2 separate regions of the Homo sapiens genome follow, and region 1 is linked to region 2. The links are contacts of gene promoters, found by promoter capture Hi-C in human tissues and cell types (Jung and others, 2019). All regions are on one chromosome and are shown on one strand. The core of a region is centred on a gene start or on the middle of the fragment in contact, and the rest is flanking DNA. Distances in the headings are between cores, read along the strand shown. Region 1 has its middle 72 kb from the start of GPR26. Region 2 holds the start of GPR26 (G protein-coupled receptor 26).

What was found. Contacts are between HindIII fragments. The study calls those that stand out against the background at their distance.
Region 1: a fragment that was not itself captured here is called in contact with the fragment with the promoter of GPR26 in region 2 in 4 of the 25 tissues and cell types used here (H1 embryonic stem cells, heart right ventricle, mesendoderm cells and 1 more).

What each region holds. Positions count from the first base shown.
Region 1 is chr10:123,591,036-123,596,993 of GRCh38, forward strand. No RefSeq gene overlaps it. Among named protein-coding and RNA genes, the nearest start is that of GPR26, 72 kb to the right of the region's middle. The HindIII fragment of the contact is 5,225 bases long and covers 808-5,958 here.
Region 2 is chr10:123,664,164-123,670,312 of GRCh38, forward strand. GPR26 (G protein-coupled receptor 26) reads left to right here and starts at 2,192. Exons shown (of 3, transcript NM_153442.4): 1 at 2,192-2,912. The coding sequence starts at 2,245. RefSeq lists enhancers at 1,400-1,937, 1,938-2,476, 2,477-3,014. The HindIII fragment of the contact is 11,073 bases long and covers 1-6,149 here.

The DNA.
Region 1 (5,958 bases), core at 2,170-4,669, 72 kb before region 2:
GAATAAAAAAGGTCTCACATTAATGGTTTGAGTTGCCATCTAAAGACACTACAAAAAAGAAGATCAAATTAAACCCAAAATAACCAGAAGGAAGGAAATGCATTTAGCCTTTTTTTGAGCAACATGGGTTTGAATTGCATGGGCTCATTTATACATAGAGTTTTTTCCCCCAACCAAACATAGATAAAAAATACAGTATTTGTGGGATCTGAAACCCACATATATGGAGGGCCAACTTTTCATATACACAAGCTCTACAGGGCTGATTTCAGGTCTTAAGTATGTGTGGATTTTGATATATGCAGAGATCCTAGAACCAATCCCCTCTGTATACCAAGGGATGACTGCAATAGAGAGCAGAAATTAGTAAAATAGAAAACAAAGAGAAAAGAGTAGAGAAATATCAATGAAACCAAAATTTGGTTCTTTGAAAAGATCAACAAAATTGATGTCCTAAATCTATTTAAAAATTAAGTCTGTAGTTAAAACACCTTTCCACAAAGAAAACTCCAGGGCTGCATGACTTCAATGATGAGTATGCTACCAGACATTTAACGAGAAGATGATGCCAACTCTACACAAACTCTTCTAGAAAATGGATGATAAGAAACACTTTCCCACTAATTTATGAGGCCATCATTATTCCGATACCAAAACCAGTGATATACATTATAAGGACATAAAACTACAGATGAAAATTTCTCATTAAAATAAATTCTATAATCTTCAACAAAATAGTATTAAATTGAATGCATCAGTGTATATAAAAATAAGCTATGACTTGATGGGATTTATCATAGAAATGCATAGTATGACTTTTAGAAAGCAATCAATATAATTCATTATATTAACCAACAAAAAATAAAAAACAATACTATCACCTCAGTATATGCAAAAAATGCATTTGGCAAAATTTCATACCCATTCATGACATGAACTATCAACAAGTAGGAACAAAAAGAACTGCCTCAATATTGTTTAGAAAAAATCTCCAGCTAACCTCAGTCTTAATGGTAAAAGTCTGGATGCTTTCCCCCTAACATCAGAAAGCAGGCCAGAATGTCTTTGCTTAACACTTTTGTTCAACATTGTACTGGAGGTCATAGTCAGTTTATTAACAGAAGAAAATGAAATAAAAGAACAAAATGGGGAATGTAAAACTGTCTTTATTCACAGACAACCTGATTGTCTATATAGAAAATACTGACAGTGTTTCTTCGTTCATTTTGTGCTGCTATAACAGAACACCACAGACTGAGTAATTTATAAAGAACAGGAATGTTTTGACTCCTGATTCTGGAGGCTGAGAAGTCCAAGATCAAGGGGCAGGCATCTGGCAATGGCTTCCTTGCTTGTTATATCATCCCATGGCAGAAAGGTAAAGAGAGGGTGAGAGAGAGAGCAAGATGCTTAACTTTCAGCCTTAATTTTAGCCTTTTTATAAATGCATTAATCCATTCATGAGGGTGGAGACTTCATAACCTAAACACCTCCCATCACCATTGCATTGGGAATTAGGTTTCCAACACGTGGTTTTTGGGGAACACATTCAAACCACAGCAGAAATATTTTTAAATTTATTAGCAATAATAAATGAGTTTAGCAAGATCATAGGGTACAAAGTTGTTATACAAAGTCAGCAGTATTTCTCCATACTAACCACAAATAATTGGAAATTGGAGTTAAATAATATTTAATCCATTAATGAGGGTGGAGACCTTATAACCTAAACACCTCCCATCACTTTTGCATTGGGGATTAGGTTTCCAACACGTGCTTTTTAAAGGACACATTCAAACATTTAAAATAACACCCAAATTATGAATATCTAGGAATAAATTTAACAAAAGATATACAACACATGTATACTACAAAGCTGTTTTGAGAGAAATTAAAGAAGATCTAAGTAAATAGAGATATACCATGCTCATGGATAAGAATCTCATTAATTCTAAGATATAAATTTTCCTAAATTGGCCTATAGTTAAAATATTATCATAATCAAAATCTCAGCAGGGTCCTTTGTAGACATTAACAAAACAATTTAAAATTTGTATAAAAATACAAAGGATGTCGACTAGCCAAAACAATTCTGAAAATGAACAAAATTGGAGGATTTGTACTAACTGATTTCAAGGCTTACTAAAAAGCTTCAGTAGTCAAGCCAGTGTGGATTTTGGCTATATATATATGTGTGTGTATATATATGTATATATATACACATACATCTCTTTCATATATATACACATATATATGTATATACATATATATGTATATACATATATATACATATATATACATATATAAATATATGAAAGAGAATAGAGACTCCAGAAATAGACTCACACATATATAGTCAATTGATTTTTTACAAGGCTCCAAGGCAATTCAATGTGTAAATGTTAATGGAATACCTGGATATCTACACAGAAAAAAGTTCCCAAACCTTACTGTACATTGAATAAAAAATTAACTCAAATAGTGTCATAAACCTATATCCAAGAGCTAAAACTATTGTGCTTCTGGAAGAAAAAAAAGAGCAGAAAACCTTTTTTGACCTTGGATTAAGTTAATATTTTTAAATAGGACACAAAAAGCACAAATTTTAAGAAAACACACACATAAATATTGAACTTCACCAACATTATAGACTTCTGCTCTTTCAAAGATAATGTTAAAAAGATGAAAAGGTAAGCTACAGCCTGGGAGAAAATATTTGCAAAACATAGATCCAATCAAAAGTCTTGCATCCAGAAAATACAGCCCAATTTTTTTTTTTTTTTTTTTTGAGATGGAGTTTTGCTCTTGTTGCCCAGGCTGGAGTGCAATGGTGTGATCTCGGCTCACTGCAACCTCCGCCTCCTGAGTTCAAGCAATTCTCCTCTCTAAGCACCCCGAGTAGCTGGTATTACAGGCATCCACCACCACGCCCAGCTAATTTTTGTAATTTTAGTAGAGATGGGGTTTCACCATGTTGGCCAGGCTAGTCTTGAACTCCTGACCTCAGGTGATCTGCCTATCTTTTAAAAATGGTCAAAACATTCCGACAGACCCTTTACCTAAAATGTTTTTCAGATGGCAAGTAAGGAAACAAAAATATGCTCAACATTATTAGTCATTAGGGAGATGCAGATTAAAACAAAAATGAAATGCTACACACCCCCCCACACATACACACAAATGACTATAATTAAAGAGATGGACAACACCAAATATTGGTGAAGATGAGGAACAGTTGGATTTTTAATACATGGTTCATGGTACAGCCACTTTAGAAAGTATTTTGAGGCCAGGCACGGTGGCTCACGCCTGTAATCCCAGCACTTTGGGAGGCCGAGGAGGGTGGACCACAAGGTCAGGAGATTGAGACCATCCTGGCTAACACGGTGAAACCCAATCTCTACTAAAAAATATATAAAAAATTAGCCAGGTGTGGTGGCAGGCACCTGTAGTCCCAGCTACTCTGGAGGCTGAGGCAGAAGAACGGTGTGAACCCGGGAGGTGGAGCTTGCAGTGAGCCAAGATGCGCCACTGCACTCCAGCCTGGGTGACAGAGCAAAACTCCGTCTCAAAAAAAAAAAAAAAAAAAAAAAGAAAGGAAGAAAGCATTTTGACGTGTCTTAGAAAATTAAACAATCATGTAGGATATGACCCTGGCATTCCACTCTTTACCAAATGAGAACATATGTCCACACAAAGGCCCTGCCTACTAATGTTTATAACAACTTTATTCATAATATCCAAAACCTAGAAACAACCCAAAGTCCATCAACTAGTGAATAGATGAACACATTGTGGCATACCCATAGAGTGAAATATCACTTAGCTATAAAAAAGAGCAAACTGCCAATATATTCAACATGGGTGCATCTCATAAGTATTATGTCAAGTGAAGAAGCTAGACACAAAACAATGTATTATATGATTCCATTTATATGGAATACTTTAAAAGGAAATTATAGTAATGGAAATCACATCAATGGTTGCCAGTGCCTGATGAGTAGCAAGGGATTGACCACAACGGGGCATTTAGGACCTTTTCAGGGAGGTGGAATAGTCTCTATCACGATTGTAGTGGTATCCCACTAGTGGATATATTTGTCAAACTCATTGAATTGTACACTTAAAATTGGCAAATTTGATTGTATGCAAATTTTACCTCAATAGAGCTGACAAAGATTAATGATAGGCTGATAGTATCTGGTCTCCATGGTACCTACCTCCTGCACTCTCTGGGTCTCCAATCCCTGAAAAGAGAGAAGCTAGGGGAGGACCAGCATCTTTGCTCTGTGTATCTGTGGTGCTGGGAGGGACAGCATCCCTGGAAGATGTTCAATGTCTGTAGAAGTAGCATCCACTCAGGGAGAGCGCTGAAGGCACTGCTACACATTTTTATTCATATCGCCCCCTAAGGAGCGTTTTGAGACCTGTTTTCCTAATCGATCCACCCCCATGACATTTTAATACAGATGTACTGTACAGCTATTTATGTTATGTATGCATATCTGTGCTTCATACATAAAAATAGTAAGATTTTATTCTCCCCCAAAGAACCAATTTTTGCCACCTTCTGGGCAACATTGCCTATTGAGAATGGACAGGTGAGGAAGGAAGCCAAAGGTCAGACTTTACTTTCAAGATTTTACTGGGTCAGATTTTACTTGCCCAGATTTTACTGGGCAAGCTTGTCTTCTTTCTCCTTCTCTTCAGTGAAGTAACAGGCTACCAGGTAGGAGGCTGGGCATAGCTGGGTCTGATGATAGGCTCTGAGGACCAAGGTGGGAAGGTGCTGTCACTCCATGTGGTCAGTGATGGACTTTGAGCACCTGGCAGGGGCCCAGCCACACCCTGCTCAGCACACTTATCACCCCATGTGTCTCCAGAGGCCCTGGGACGTGGGCAGGCACATCAATAGTTGCTCACTGGAGTCGTTCTGCTTCCACAAGGCTTTCAATAGCAAAACAGCTCTTATCTATGAAATATGATTCCTTGGAACCCCTCTTATCTAAAGAAAGTTATGAGAGGGGCAGAATAATGCTGCTTCTTTGGAGGTAAATGCTCAGTTTGGCTTCCTCATAGGTATGTGAGGAGCAGAAGGAAAAGTTGCTTTCAAGAAAGTCACTCAAAAAAGCAGACATAAATATGAAAATATTTGTAGGCACACATGTTGAGGAAGAGGACAAAGGGTCTGGCTGCCCACCTCCCAGGCATTTTCCTCATTTAGAAGTGGCCCCCACTCACAGGGGTGGCCCCCAAGGGCTTTCTGGGCTTTGTGATCTTGTCCCCATGGCCATAACTGGTTGGTCCAAGTAGAGACATTTGATCCAAGCCAGACCAATCACATTCCCTGATCCAACTATTTGAAACCTGGTGCCAAGAGACACACAGAGATCTTTGGAATTGGGCTACTTCAATGACAAACACCTGGACAAGGCCCATGGTCCCTCGTCTGAGGGCCCCAGAACTGCTCTGATCTTACTCTAACCACAGATTGGGTGCTCAGAATCTCCTTTGTGGTCTCTGAACTTCACCAATAAGCCTTCCAATTAGCTCCATGGGTCCAGGCATGGCACATTCCAACCTGCATATTTTGGCCAGATGACACTATGGCTGCTCTGCCCTACAGGTTCACTCTTTATCCCAAAAACTCAGCTGAGGAAGAATTCCCAAAATGGCTCTCTTTCCTTCAACCCTAGCACCTCCAGATGTCAAATTGCAAAGATGGCATGTGTCTCACCCTCAGATCTCAACAAGTGGCACTGTCTCTGTGTCTGTCCTCCACCGGCTTTGTGGCCAAGGAGAGCTATGAGGAGGTGTCCCCAGACATCCTCACTCTGTGCCTAAGAATGGAGGAGGGGGAGGCAGAAAACACATGGCATCGTGCCTGTCACAGTTGAGGGTGATGGATGAGGAGGCAGGGCCCAGGGACTCACCATTGTTTCTGGGGAGGGCAGGATT
Region 2 (6,149 bases), core at 942-3,441:
CTGTCTGCAGCTGTCAGTCACTCAGATAACTGTCAATGAGTGTCATCTGTGGACACACAGAGAAGAGAGGGAATCTTGTTTCTGCCCTCCTGACACCTCATTTCATGAGCATTTAATAAAGTTTGGATGTTTGTCCCCTCCAAATCTCATGTTGAAACATAATCCCCAATGTTGGAGGTGGGCCCTGGTGGGAGGCGAAGGCGATTGGATAATGGGGGCAGAGCCCTCATGAATGGGTTGGCACCATCCTGAATGACTTCTCAGTCCATGAGAGATATGGTGTTTAAAAGCCTGGGACCTCCCCCTTCTCTTTCTGGCTTTCACTCTTGCCATGTGACATGCCTGCTCCCACTTTGCCTTTTGCCATGATTAGAAGCTTCCTGAGGCCCTCATCAGAAGCTGAGCAGATGTTGGAGCCATGATTGCATACCTTGCAGAATCATGAGCCAATTCAACCTCTTTTCTTCATCAATTACCCAATCTCAGGTATTCCTTTACAGCAAAGAAAAATGGCACAATACAGCATCTACAATGTGCTTGGTACTATGTGAAGGAGATAATTAAGTATAATGAGGTCTCTACCTTCAGGGCGTAGAGTCCACCACGTCCTTGCTTGGCTTACTTTATCTAGTGGCTTGAGGCCCAGGAATGTCCAGTCACCACTGGCCACACCAGGAGGCTCCAGAACAGGGCTTTCTATGTCCAGGACAGGGATCTGAGGTTGCTGACATGGTGCAGGGGGTCACTGCAGGGCAGCATCTCACAGAGTTGAAGGGGGCTGCAGGGGTTCTGAGAGCTGCCCCTGCCTGTCCATCCCCACCCCTTCCCCACAGAGTCTTGGTTGAGAACCGAAGGGCCACAGTCCCTGCACACTTTGCTGAGGGGAGGCAGGGGTCCCCTGTGTCCAGGGTCTCTGTTGCTTGGACCATGCCTGCCAGCTGACACCCTCCCCATTTTCTGAAGAGTTCTGGCACCTTATATCAGGCAGGTCCCTCATAAACTAGAATGTGCTGCCTCACCAGTCTCAGGGCAGAGGGGTGTGTGGCTTCAGGGCTACAGGAGGCAGCTGCTGGAACTTGGAGCAGGACAACAGAGTATCCACCATACTAGGGTTAGCTGTCTAGGCTGGTTGTGGACAGCCTGGCTTGCCCAGGTGGGAGCAGTCAGGGTCAGCAAAGGCATCTCCCAGCTGGAGAGATGCCCAGGGGATGTTACAGAGAGCCTCGGGGTCCCTGCAGCAGGCTTAGGATTCAGCCGAAGCTCTGGCTGTAGGGCGAGGGAAAGAAGGCACTGAGAATCGAGTAACCTCAGTCATGCAGCAGCTGTTCTTGGGACAGACAGGCTGGGACACTCACGTCAAGGTCTGCCAGGATAGCATGCAGGCGGGGACAGGTGGCACTGGGGCGTGAAGGTGTCCAGGCATCCCTTCCTTTTCTCAGAGAGATTTCCTTGACTCAGCCTGTCTTTGACACACACGGGGGGATGGAGGATGTTGGGGGAAGGGAGCCACAGTGAGCCAATCACCCTGCACCGGAGCCTTCGGGGCTGGTTCCCTCCGAGCCTGTAAGTGTGAGTGTGTGTGCGCGAGTGTGTCTGTGTGTGCACCAGTGGGGATTTCTGTGATAGAAGCAGCCAGATTCCAGAGACAGAGAGAAGAGGAGGGGGAAGAACAAGAGAGGGGAGAAAATTGGGGGTGGGAGAGACAGACGGAGAGAACAGCGCGGGGGGCGGGGAGAGGGAGAGAGGTGGAGGGGAGAGCAGAGAGAGAGAGAGCGAGCCAGAGAGCAGAGAGGGAGGAAGAGAGAAAGCAAGAGAGCGGGAGGGTGCGCGGAGCGGAGCGGAGACAGAGCTCGCGGGCATGGGGTGAGAGCGGGAGGAAGCAGAGGCAGAGGCGGAGCAGGGGCGCAGGTGCCTGCAACCCAGGATCCCGGGGCGCTAAAGGCTTCGGGTTCTACCGCACGCTCAGTCGCTGGCTCCAGAGGTGCTGCTGGGGGCCAGGGTTCACTGCCGCGCGCCAGGTGCCTGCCCGTGAGGCGGCGCGGGGCTCCCGGGTGGCTGCGCGCCCAGACGCCTGCCCGGGAGGCCGCCTGAGGCTCCGGGGTGGCCGCGCGCCCTCCTGGGAGCCATGGCGGCTGGGGCCGGTGGTCGCCGGGCGGCGGCGGCGCCGAGGGGCTGAGCCGGCCGCGGGCAGCGCCATGGCGGCGCCGGGTTGCGGACCCTGAGCGCCGGCGCGGGGCGCGCACCATGAACTCGTGGGACGCGGGCCTGGCGGGGCTACTGGTGGGCACGATGGGCGTCTCGCTGCTGTCCAACGCGCTGGTGCTGCTCTGCCTGCTGCACAGCGCGGACATCCGCCGCCAGGCGCCGGCGCTCTTCACCCTGAACCTCACGTGCGGGAACCTGCTGTGCACCGTGGTCAACATGCCGCTCACGCTGGCCGGCGTCGTGGCGCAGCGGCAGCCGGCGGGCGACCGCCTGTGCCGCCTGGCTGCCTTCCTCGACACCTTCCTGGCTGCCAACTCCATGCTCAGCATGGCCGCGCTCAGCATCGACCGCTGGGTGGCCGTGGTCTTCCCGCTGAGCTACCGGGCCAAGATGCGCCTCCGCGACGCGGCGCTCATGGTGGCCTACACGTGGCTGCACGCGCTCACCTTCCCAGCCGCCGCGCTCGCCCTGTCCTGGCTCGGCTTCCACCAGCTGTACGCCTCGTGCACGCTGTGCAGCCGGCGGCCAGACGAGCGCCTGCGCTTCGCCGTCTTCACTGGCGCCTTCCACGCTCTCAGCTTCCTGCTCTCCTTCGTCGTGCTCTGCTGCACGTACCTCAAGGTGCTCAAGGTGGCCCGCTTCCATTGCAAGCGCATCGACGTGATCACCATGCAGACGCTGGTGCTGCTGGTGGACCTGCACCCCAGGTGAGCCGAGCGCAGCTAAGGCTCTGGGAACAGCCGCGCGGGATCTCGGCGGGAGTGGGAGGTCCCTAGCCCCAGGGGCTCTTTTCCACCGAGCCTCTGTTTCTTCTGAGAACTCGAGGGTGGGGAAAGCGGCCCAGCTGTGGGGCTTAAGGAGGTGCTTAGGGTATCAGCAAACCAGGGCCACAAAAAATGCGGGTGAGCCCATCTATACATCGGTTTTTGAAGCATCAGGGTAGAAATCACAGACAGTCAGAACTCTGTTGGGCTTCTTCATGCACATTTTCTGTGTTTGTAGCTTTCACTTTAAATGGCACATGGGAAGTCCGTGGTCTTTGTTCCCTATTAAAGACCTTCAAAGTGTTTGATTCTGGCCGAGAGGGCGGCCTCGATGCTTAGGGAGCTCCTTAAGAGCTTTTCAGACCCAAGTGTGTCGCTTCTCTGAGTCTTTCCCTTCTCGGGTGTGTGGCGCTGCCTCTGTCTCACGACTGTGTGTGTGTGTGTGTGTGTGTGTGTGTGTGTGTGTGTGAATTCTGATGGACTCGGGCTGCGTCCTTCTCTGTGGTGGGCCCTGAGGGGTGGGGTGGGGGGCTCTTCCTGCCCTCCCCAGAGAGCACTGTCCAATGTCTGCCTGACTTGGTGCCTAGAGGCTCCTGCAGAAGGAGTGTGCCCCAAGGCTCCTGGGGCTGAATCTGCCCCCACCTCCGTCGTCACGCTGGCTGCTGTTCTCAGGAGGGCAGATGGAGCTGGGCAAGCATGGGTACCCTCTGGGAACCCCTGCCATCGCAGGAGCCTGTCAGGGAGAGAAGGAGGGAACTCTTAGCTGCGCTGTCCTGAGCTCACCTCAGCTTTCCCCAGGAGAATAGGAAATCGAGGAGGGAAACAGCTGGCAGCGTCTGGACTCTGCTATTTTACATCCTGTTGTCCCAGGGGAAGGCAGGCTCCCTGCTCTGTGTCCTGGGACCCTAGATAAGGGGGTGCTGGGGTCCAGATGGTGTCGCAGGTGAGGCAGGCAGAGAGCTCTGACAGGGCCAGCGAGGGCCTTCCGTGTGGGAGAACCCTGGGAACCCAGGGGAGCCTCGGGGCAGAGGAAGCTCTATCCTCTGGTGGATATGTTCCACACCAGGGTTGAAGGGGACAGGCTGGAGGTGTCAGGCTGAGCATTCTGAGTATTTCCTGCACGAGAGCAGTAACAAGCAGTCCTTGACCTTCACAATGCCGACACATTGAAGGGCAAGTGTGCACGTGTTCATTGTCCCCCTGAGCACAGCCATTCCTGATTACACACTGGACCAATCTTCCAGCCACAGAATCCCCACAGATTCAGGAACAGAATGTACATGTGAGTGACTGAGAGCACATAGATACCAGGCCATGTAAACGTGGGAGCTCCACACACAATCTCATGTGTTCACACATAAACTGTATATGTACCAGACAGCTGGCCATGTGTACACAGGTTTACAGGAGTGACACGAGTGCATTCTGCCACAAAGACATACATTGGCTGTCACAGCACATGTCTCTGCATGGTTCAGTGTCCTTCAAGGAAATATTTGCAGCCACAGTTGCAGAGCTATTGCCCTTTCCATGACTCAGAGCTGAGAGGCTCTTCCTTAGAGGGTGCATCCTTAGCGCTTGGGCTGGGACTGCTCTTAGAAGATGTAGGGCAATGTTGTTTAACTCCCGGGACTAAAGACTCCTAGAGGGGGCCCTCTCACCATGAGTCTAACAGCGGAGGAGGGTTGAGCTGGGAGTGGAACCAGTTCTTATTTAGAGCAGTACAAACTGCATTCCCACTCTTCCTCCAACTTCCAGAAGAGGAGGGGCCGTGGTTCCTGTTCAGCCTATTTGGGATGTAGGGCCAGCTCCACTCCTGCAAATCCCTCTGGCCGATGTCAGGCCAGACACTGCAGAGAGAGTCCTGGGGTCTCAGGAGTGGAGGCAGCTACTCTGCTTGCCTTCGATTTCCCCTCCATTCCTCTGGGAGGACCTTGATCTCTTCCTAGCCCCGGGCTGCTTTGAAGAGCCCCTGCTCCCAGTGCCCTGGGACCCTCCAGGCCCAGTCTCATTGGAGAGAGAAAAGACTTCTGGGGCCGGGGTTGCCATCGGCCAGTGCCAACAGGCTCCCTGGACTAATGCTCCCTGAGGTCATGGAATAGTGGCAGACCTGATAGCACTGCCCCTTTAGTGAATACAAACTTGTCCTTCTCTGAGGGGTTGATCCCCGCCAAGCATGTGGGAGGGACAACACAGGAGGGGATGACCAGTCCTCAAGAGACCCTGACAGCCAGTCCACCAGCTTCTATCTTGACAGCACTAAACTCTTCCTCCCTACAAATGAGCAAGTACAGAGCTAGCTCAGGGGCTGCCCCAGGCACCACCAGTCTCAGGCAGTGAGCCTCTCAGGGCCATTCGGTGCTGAGAGCCTGTAGGACCCAGGAGTGCTGGTCTTGGGCAGCAGGAGCTGGCTTCTCCCTCTGGACAGCCAGGACAGCAGCCGGAGTCTTTGCTCACTGGAAGTTTTGTCAGCCTCCACACTGATGGCCTGCTAGGACTTAATTACAAAGGACCTGTTTTGAGGACCCAGGGTGGCATTTGTCTTTGTCAGGAAGCTCCTGGTGGTGTCTGCTCTACCTGCAGGATGTTTGGCACCATAAGTAGCAGTCCTCACCACTTTGCTTCAGCCACCTCCAAAATACCCGGGACCCTCTCTTCTTAATTCAATCTGGGACCCTGGCCCTGGGAAGCATTCCGCACTCCTGCCTTTCTGTGGTGATTTCTTGAGTTACGTTTCTGAAGCAGTTTGGAGTTTCTAATATTTGTTAAACACCTGGTGCTCCATCTGAATGAGCAGCATTCACTTCTCCCAAACCATAGCTGGGGACTAGTTATAGGCAGCCCCTCTCCCTGGTGCTCCCAGGCATGGCAGAGCAGGTGGGCCCCAGGGTATGGTTGCAGGGACCTTGCTCTTCCCTGACTCACTGGCTTGGCTTAGTGATTCAACAGAAACAGAATGTTGATGATGAGGTCTCAAAGGGAAGCAGTGCCAAACCTAACTGGAGCTTCCTCTGAGGCTGCCCCAGGCTCTGCTGGTTCCCCCAGTGTGTCCTCTGTGTCCTGTGAGCAATGTCTGCAGATGTTGCCTGAGTGGCTGACTCTGGAGGGTGTCAGAATTGTGGCTCAGTAGACAGGAACTACACTGTGCCCTTGACTTTACAGATGAGAAAATGAGAGACC